Linked DNA regions of Homo sapiens: regions 2 and 3 are each linked to region 1. Evidence: promoter capture Hi-C in human tissues and cell types (Jung and others, 2019). All regions are on one chromosome and are shown on one strand. The core of a region is centred on a gene start or on the middle of the fragment in contact, and the rest is flanking DNA. Distances in the headings are between cores, read along the strand shown. Region 1 holds the start of ERN2 (endoplasmic reticulum to nucleus signaling 2). Region 2 overlaps CHP2 (calcineurin like EF-hand protein 2). Region 3 overlaps DCTN5 (dynactin subunit 5).

Region 1 (2,854 bases), core at 54-2,553:
AATCAGCAGGGATTTTTTTTTTTTTATTTTTACACAAGGATGAAGGAGACATGAATGAGTTGAAACTTGCAAACAGGGTGGACCTTACCTTCAAGGACCCTGGCAGACCCTCTCTGAACAAAACTGGAGACATCTACCAGGAGCAAGGGTGGTCACGGCCATTAGAAGGTGCCCTTCCATGCGGAGTTGTCTTACATCTAAGGCATAGGAATCTCTAAGCTCTACGAAGACAGGGACCTCATCATCTTGTTCATCAGGCAGGCATGTCATAGCTTATAATAAATGCATATTTATTGGCTGGGCGCGGTGGCTTATGCCTGTAATCCCAGCACTTTGGGAGGACGAGGTGAGCGGATCAACTGAGGTCAGGAGTTTGAGACCAGCCTGGCCAAAGTGGTGAAGCCCCATCTCTACTAAAAATACAGAAATTAGCTGGGCATGTTGGCCCACATTTTTAATCCCAGCTACTCGGGAGGAGGATTGCTTGGACCCAGGATGCAAAGGTTGCAGTTAGCCAAGATAGTGCCATTGCACTCCAGCCTGGGTGACAAGATCGACTCTGTCTCAAAAAATAAATACATGCATATTTATTTATTTATTTTATTTTTGGAGAGTGTGTCTCTCTCTGTCGCCCAGGCTGGAGTGCAATGGCACAGTTATAGCTCACTGCAGCCTTGACTTCCTGGCTCAAGCAATCCTCCCACCTCAGCCTCGCGAGTAGCTGGAACTACAGGTGGACATCACCACACCTGGCCATTTTTTTTTGTAGAGATGGGGTCTCACTATGTTGCTGGTCTCCAACTCCTGGTTTCAAGTGATCCTCCCTCCTAGGCCTCCCAAAGTGCTGGGATTACAGAGGTGAGCCACTTACCTGACCCATAATAAATATTTATTGAACGAACGACTGAATTCACCAATTAATCGCTATTTCCTGATAGCCCACCGGGATCCGCTGGTGCAATGATAAAGAGCGCAGGCTTTGAGATCAGGCGGATCTGTATTGGGACTGCGGCTCTCAGCCTCCGCTTGTACCTGCTGTGCAGTGAGGACTCCAGGAACTGATGATGAACCGGCACGGTCCTCGGCACGTGGCAAGTTCTCCATAAGTGGGCTCAGTAAAATCCCTCTCCCGGGAAAGCGCCCCACCGTGTTTGGTGGGGTGACTGGGACGCGAGGATGCGGCTGGGAGTGTGATGAGAAGGGCGGGGATCGGCGAGGACTCCAGGCTGGGGTTGCAGGCCCAGCCAGGGGCGGAGCCTTCTCCGGGTCGGGCGGGGACAGAGCGCTCCCTTGGAGGCACCCAGGGACCTGGCCAGCCGTGCAGCTGCCCAGGCGCTATGGCGAGTGCGGTCAGGGGGTCGAGGCCGTGGCCCCGGCTGGGGCTCCAGCTCCAGTTCGCGGCGCTGCTGCTCGGGACGCTGAGTCCACAGGTGAGAGCCAGGGACCGACGCCAAGTCCCCAAAGTCTGGTCGCGGGGCGCAGGGGGCGGCGTCGCACTTGGGGCGAGGGCGCGGCGGGGCCACGGGGGCACCTCTCCCTCCCTCACGCCTGGGTGGTCCCAACTCGGCCCCAACGGAGTAAAAGCCTCCTGGGTTTGGGGAGCCGCCAGTTGCCCCCAACAAATACCTAGCTGGGGAGATCTGCCAGCGTGGAAAGGCAAGAGTAGACAGAGCACCCCGCCTCTTCAGCAGGGAGAGGTGTAGTCTGGGGTAGGGGGGCACCTGGGCACGAAAGCCAGGCCTCTTAAAACTTCTGGGAATCCTGGCTTCCTTTGAAAATATGATTGACTTCAGGGCCCTCTGCTGAGAAATGAGCCTGCACGCCCAGTTTTGCAATTTCAGAGGCTTTACAATACGGTCCCCTTACCCATGGCTGCACCCCAGGTTCAGAACCTATGGGATAAATGAGCTGGGAGTGTCAGTATCTGCTCCCACGGTGCCAGGAATAGCAGAGTCTTACAGAAATGCAGCCAGGAGGCAAAAGTCGCCTGGCCTAAGAATCCAGGTGTCCCGCCTAGAACCCCCATGGGGCAAAAGCGATCAGGTAGAGTTAGGCACCTCTCATTCCCGGCTTCCACCTCATGGGTCCACCTCATGGTTGCCAGCTAAGAATGCAAGCCCAGTGTGGCCAGATCGGATGTCTCTGGAAAAATTAGAAATGAGAAAGATTTGAAATCTTGGTTTTTTTGTAGAAATCATCCAATTTTTAAAAAAATTGGCAGCTAATTGAAAAATTTTTAAGCACTAGATGGTCAAACAAAATTCATTTCTGGGCAACCAATCTGCAGCCTCTTCTCCAAACCGTTCTCCCTCCTGCCATGCTGCAGATGACAAAATTGAAGCCCAGAAAGAAAGAGGGGCTAGCAGATAATTTCCTGACCCTCCACTCAACACCAGTGGCCCAGCCCCAAACCTGAGGGTCCTGAAGCAGGATGTGGCCTTTGTAGGGGTGCGGCTGGGCCACCCGGATGTTAGGCCTCCTGCTGGGAGCTCAGCCTCACCCTGTTTGCTCAAGGAGGGACTGGAGCAGGTGAGTGAGCCCAGGATCGCCAGATGTAAGTACGGGTGGCTCCAGCCCCCCTCCCAAGGGCACCCCCCAGCCTTGGGTCAAGGGACCCACTGGAGCCTGGCACCAAAACCAGCTGGGCTGGTTTGGGGAGGCAGAAAGGGGCATCCCAAAAGAGGTAGACATTGTGGCAGAGGAAAAAGAGGCCAGGCATAGGAATCAGAGGGATGGCAACTCAAGTCCTTAGTTTTGCCACTTATTATCTCTGTGGCTTTATGCCAATGACCTAACCAATGACCTAACTTTCCTGAGCCTCAGTCTCCCTCCTCTGTAGAATGGGAAAACTAAT
Region 2 (2,933 bases), core at 168-2,667, 45 kb before region 1:
CTGCCCCCGGCCAGGACAGGGTGATTTAACAAGCAAATGAATTAACCCTGTGAGCAATGGGGGCTCAAATCTGCTGGAAATTGCTATGAAAATTAAGAAAACATGTATCTAAATTGTGCCACCTGAATGATGAAGTAATGGGTATTTATCCAACCAATTTCCATCTGTCACTAGTTGAGAGCTACTCCTAATGTCATTAAATCCTGGCACTTCCACCCTGCCCTTTATACAGGCTGAATATGTGCAAAGCCCTGGAGCAAGGCATCACAGTGCTTGCAAAAAGAAGCCACTAGCATGTAAGGCTGGGTGCAGTGGCCCATGCCTATAATCCCAGCACTTTGGGAGGCCGAGGTGGGTGAATCACTTGAGTCTAGGAGTTCAAGACTAGCCTGGGCAACATGGTGAAACCCCACCTCTTTTTAAAAAAAAAATTAGCTAGGCATGGTGGCATGTGCCTGTAGTCCAAGCTACTCAAGAGGCTGAGGTGGGAGCATTGCTTGAGCCCGAGAGGCAGAGGTTGCAGTGAGCCAAGACTGCCACTGCACTCCAGCCTGGGTGACAAAGCTAGACCCTGTCTCAAAAAAAAAAAAAAAAAAAAAGGAAAGAAAGATAAGAAAAGAAAGAAAGAAAAAGAAAGAAAGAAAGAAAGAAAGAAAGAAAGAAAGAAAGAAGGGAGAAAAAAGGAAAGAAACCATTGGCATGCAAAGTAATGGGAAATGTCTAGCAGGTAGTGTGCAGATAAATGTTTAACAACTGGCTTTCCAGGAGGAAAAAGCCTTAACCTGTTGCAGTTACCAATGTCTGTGGTGTAAATATTCCTGCTATAGCCAGTTTCAAGCTGCTAACATATCATTGAAAGCAGAGTTGAGATGTTATGAGCACAACTGGTTCTCATGTGTTGATGATACAAGACAACCAAAGACCAGCTCTGGGAGGGAGAAAAACAGCAGGGCAATTACAGTGTCTCCCACAGGTGCAACCAGAGAGCTCTGCTGCAGACATAGAGTCTCATAGTTTTATGGGACTTCCTGCTCCATTCCATCTTATATCAATGTTTGAACATCTTACCATGAAAACAAGCTTACTCTTAGAATCTTCGAATGCATTCACACTCTAGGAAGGTATATATTGTTTATTATTTTTACATCGTCTCTTCCCTACTGCATCAAGCCCCATCATCCTAGCATGCACCCAGGAAATCAGCAAAAACCCATTTAAGAGTCCAGACTTCAAGGGTCCCTCACAGTAATGGGCATCTCTTGTTTTGCCCGAGCAGAGCAGACCACTCGTTTCCCCTTATTCTGCTAATTGTATTTCATTTTCCTTTAAGCAACCACCTTTCACCCCATCCTGAATCCTCAGACCTTATTTCCCTGGCTCTAGGAATTAGCACATGACACAGGCCTGGCCACTCAGAGTGTTTCATTCCCCTAGAAGTAGAGATGAGACCCCAAACGGGTCAATGACACTCTCCACTTGGAATTATTGGAATAAGTAAATCTCTTCCCACTGGGTTACTGGGTTAGCAGGATAGAAGCCTGGAGCTGATGGTGGTCATCTCCATCACTAGGAAAGAGCCTTCCTGAAAATCAGGCTTACAGACAGAAAAAGCTGAGCTGGGAGATGGAGAATAACTGGAGCCTGATGACATCATTTGTGCCCTTGGATCCAGCTGTGCCTAAAGGCAGATACTTCTGGACTTTTTAATTACCTGAATTCATAAAATTTCTTTCTGACTTAAGTCACTTTGAGTTGGGTTTTCAGTGATTTGCAACTAAAATATTGCTGGCTGATTCACAGCTCTGAGACCAAATGAGATAGACCTGGTGTGGGGTCTGTGGTCTGTTAGGAACCGGGCTGCACAGCACAAGGTGAGCGGCAGGCGAGCTGAAGCTTCATCTATATTTACAGCCACTCCCCATTGCTTGCATTACCGCCTGAGCTCTGCCTCCTGTCAGATCAGCAGTGGCATTAGATTATCATAGGAGCCCAAATCCTACTGTGAACTGCACACCAAAGGATCTAGATTGTGCACTCCTTATGAGAATCTAATGCCTGATGATCTGTCACTGTCTCCCATCACTCCCATATGGGACCGTCTAATTGCAGGAAAACAAGCTCAGGGCTCCTGCTGATTCTACATTATGGTGAGTTGTATAATTATTTCATTATATATTACAATGTAATCATAATAGAAATAAAGTGCACAATAAATGTAATGCACTTGAATCATCCCAAAACCATCCCCTGTCACCCATCCGTGGAAAAACTGTCCCTGATGCCAAAAAGGTTGGGGACTGCTGAGCTAGACTTTAGTACACATCCTTCCAGCTTTCTTCTCTTGGCCCTAAATAGAGTTAGAAACGAAAATACAGTTTATTGTCGCCCTGCGTCCATGCGTCCATGGGGGCTTTGGATGAATTCCAAGGAGATACTGGTTGCAGGAGCAAGCCCAAGGCACAAACGGAGTCACTTCAGGATCCGGATGCTCATTTTTTGCTCAACGTCCATCTTCTCTAAGGACTGAGGGAAAAACAAATGGCAGGCAAGAGGCTTGACTCTCAGCTCTCCATGCTCCCAACCTCCTCCCCCAGGGTTCTACCCATTCCAGAGACCCCATCATTCCCAGGCAACCCCTATCTTTCCGCCCTCCTCCGTTGAACGTTTCCCAAGTCTGTCTGCCCCAGAACTCCTGATCTCAACTCCCCAATCCCCAAGGGCACTCTGACCTTGGTGAACTCCACGAAGGACACAGCCCCATCCCCATCTTCATCAGCCTCCTGCACCGTGCGGTCAGCGATGTTCTCCAGCTGCTCTTCTGTCACCTGTACCCCAACCATCAGACGGAGAACCTGAGAGATGAGTGAAGAGGCAGCCATAAGGAGGGGGCACGAAGGCTGCAACTCCCCATCTCCTAAACCTTGCCCACCTCA
Region 3 (2,932 bases), core at 72-2,571, 58 kb after region 1:
ACAAATGAACTGGAAAAAGATATCCTGAGATACTGGGAAGACTGAATATGGACTGAGCGTTAGATGGTATTAAGGAAGTACTGGAGTTTTTACAATATTAACATGATAACAGTGATACTCTACTCATTTTTGTTTGTTTATAGAGACAGGGTCTCGCTCTGTCACCCAGGCTGGAGTGCAGTGGCATGATCATGGCTCACTGTAACCTTGAACTCCTGGGCTCAAGAGATCCTTCTGCCTCAGCCTCCAGGTAGCTGGGACTACAGGTGCATGCCACTAGACCTGGCTAATTTTTCTTTTCATTTTTTGTAGAGACATGGTCTTGCTATGTTGCCCAGGCTGGTCACAAATGCCTGGCCTCAAGTAATTCTCTTACTTCAGCCTCCCAAGTGCTAGGATTCCAATTGTGAGCCACCATGCCCCACCTCTACTGAATTTTTAAGTCCTTAAGAATTAGTAAGACACACTGAAGTATTTGTGGGTGAAATAATATGACATTTGCAATTTGTTTTAAAATACCATCCAGCCGGGAATGGTGGCTCATGCCTGTAATTCTAGTACTTTGGGAGGCTGATGCAGGAGGACTGCTTGAGCACAGGAGGGCAAGACCAGCCTGGGAAACATGGCAAAACCCTATCTTTGCAAAAAATACAAAAATTAGCCAGATGTGGTGGTGTGCACCTGTAGTCCCAGCTACTCAGGAGTCTGCGGTGGGGGGATTGTCTGAGTATGTGGAGGTCGAGGCTGCGGTAAGCTGAGATCACACCACTGCACTCCCACCTGGGTGACAGAGCAAGACTGTGCCTCAAGAAAAAAAAAAAAAAATTAAGCAGGGCATGGTGGCACGTGCCTATAGTCCCAGCTACACCAGAGGCTGAGGCGGAAGGATCACTAAGAATCAAGGCTACAGTGAGCTATGATAGTGCCACTTGCTGCACTCCAGCCTGGGCAACAGAGTAAGACTCTGTCTCAGAAAAAGAAAAAATAAATAAGTAAGAATAAAAAACTCTAGCGTTCCCTACCCCACCCTAGTCAAACTAGGACTTGAGTTTACAAGGTGAGTTTAGAGATGAAGCAAAAATGTCAGAATATTGCTAATTATGGAAGCTGGTAAATGAGTTTGTGGGAATTCCTTATATATCCTCTCTACTTTTGTACATGTCTTAAAAGTTCCATAATGATAATATTTAGCTATAAAAAGGAAAAAATAATAATCTGCTACTATATGCAACAAGATGGATACATCTCAAAAACATTATGCTGCGTGAAAAAAGCTTGACATAAAAGAGTATATGATTCTAACCCAGATATCCATGAATGGGCGAAAGGATAAAGAAAATGTGGTATATATCACTTCTTGGCCTTTTGGCTAAGATCAAGTGAAGAAAATGTAGTATATATACATAATGGAATATTATTCAGTCATAAAAAAGAACGAAATCCTGTCATTTGCAGCAACATGGATGGAACTGGAGGTTACTATATTAAATGAAATAAGCCAAGCACAGAAAGACATATATCACACGTTCTCACTCATATGTGGGCACTAAAAAAGCAGATTTCAAGACAGAGAGTAGACTGTTGGTTACCAAAGGCCAAGAAAGGTAGGAGGAAGGAAGAGGGGTTAATTAATGGGCACAAATATACAGCTTGATAGAAGAAATAAGACCTAGAATTTGATAGGTCAGTAGGGTGACTACAGTTTACAGTAATCTATTATGTATTTCAAAACAGCTAGAAGGAAATAATTTTTTTTAAACTTTTAAGTTCAGGGGTACATATGCAGGTTTGTTACATAGGTAAACTTGTGTCATGGAGGTTTGTTGTACACATTATTTCATCACCCAGGTATTAAGCCTAGTACCCATTATTTTTCCCGATCCTTTCCCTCCTGCACCCTCCCAACTCCCCGCTCCCATAGGCCCCAGTGTGTGTTGTTCCCCTCTATGTGTCCATGTGTTCTCATCATTTAGCCTCCAGCTCCATCCATGTCCCTGCAAAAAATATGATCTCATTCTTTTTTATGGCTGCATTGTATTTCATGGTGTACCTGTACCACATTTTCTTTATCCAGTCTATCACTGATAAGCATTTAGGTTGATTCCATGTCTTTGCTATTGTGAACAGTGTTGCAATGAATATATGTGTGCACATGTCTTTATAATAGAATGATTTATATTCTTTTGGGTATATATCCAGTAATGGGATTGCTGGGTCAAATGGTATTTCTGTCTTTAGGTCTCTGAGGAATCACCACACTGTCTTCCACAATGGTTACACTCCCACTAACAGTATGTAAGTGTTCCTTTTTCTTCACAACCTCACCAGCATCTGTTATTTTCTGACTTTTTAATAACAGCTATTCTGACTGGTGTGAGACGGTATCTCGTGGTTTTGATTTGCACTTCTCTAATGATCAGTGATGTTGAGCTTTTTGTCATGATTATTGTATTTCTTCTTTTGAAAAGTGTCTGTTCATGTCCTTTGCCCACTTTTTAAATGGGGTTGTTTTCTACTTGTAAATTTGTTTAATTCCTTTAGATGCTGGATATTAGACCTTTGTCAGATGCATAGTTTGCAAAAATTTTCTCCCATTCTGTAGGATGTCTGTTTACCCTGTTAATAGTTTCTTTTGCTGTGCAGAAGCGCTTTAGTTTAATCAGATCTCATTTGTCAACTTTCGCTTTGTTGCAATTGCTTTTGGCATCTTCATCATGAAATCTTTGCCTGTACCTATGTCCTGAATGGTACTGGTTAGGTTGTCTTCCAGGATTTTTACAGTTTTGGGTTTTATATTTAAGTCTTTAATCCATCTTGAGTTGATTTTTCTATATGGTATAAGGAAGGGGTCCAGTTTCAATTTTCTCCATATGGCTAGCCAGTTATCCAAGCACCATTTATTGAATAGAGAATCCTTTCCTCATTGCTTGTT

The links. Contacts are between HindIII fragments. The study calls those that stand out against the background at their distance.
Region 2: a contact is called between a fragment that was not itself captured here and the fragment with the promoter of ERN2 in region 1, in 3 of the 25 tissues and cell types used here (aorta, spleen and stomach).
Region 3: a contact is called between a fragment that was not itself captured here and the fragment with the promoter of ERN2 in region 1, in 1 of the 25 tissues and cell types used here (small bowel).

What each region holds. Positions count from the first base shown.
Region 1 is chr16:23,711,671-23,714,524 of GRCh38, reverse strand. It overlaps ERN2 (endoplasmic reticulum to nucleus signaling 2), which reads left to right and starts at 1,303. Exons shown (of 22, transcript NM_033266.4): 1 at 1,303-1,430. The coding sequence starts at 1,338. The HindIII fragment of the contact is 19,919 bases long and covers 1-2,854 here.
Region 2 is chr16:23,757,120-23,760,052 of GRCh38, reverse strand. CHP2 (calcineurin like EF-hand protein 2) reads right to left here. Exons shown (of 7, transcript NM_022097.4): 6 at 2,730-2,852; 7 at 1,118-2,523. The coding sequence ends at 2,470. Among named protein-coding and RNA genes, the nearest start is that of CHP2, 3.6 kb to the right of the region's middle. The HindIII fragment of the contact is 3,201 bases long and covers 1-2,933 here.
Region 3 is chr16:23,653,437-23,656,368 of GRCh38, reverse strand. All of the region lies in intron 2 of DCTN5 (dynactin subunit 5), which reads right to left. Among named protein-coding and RNA genes, the nearest start is that of DCTN5, 13 kb to the right of the region's middle. The HindIII fragment of the contact is 3,291 bases long and covers 1-2,932 here.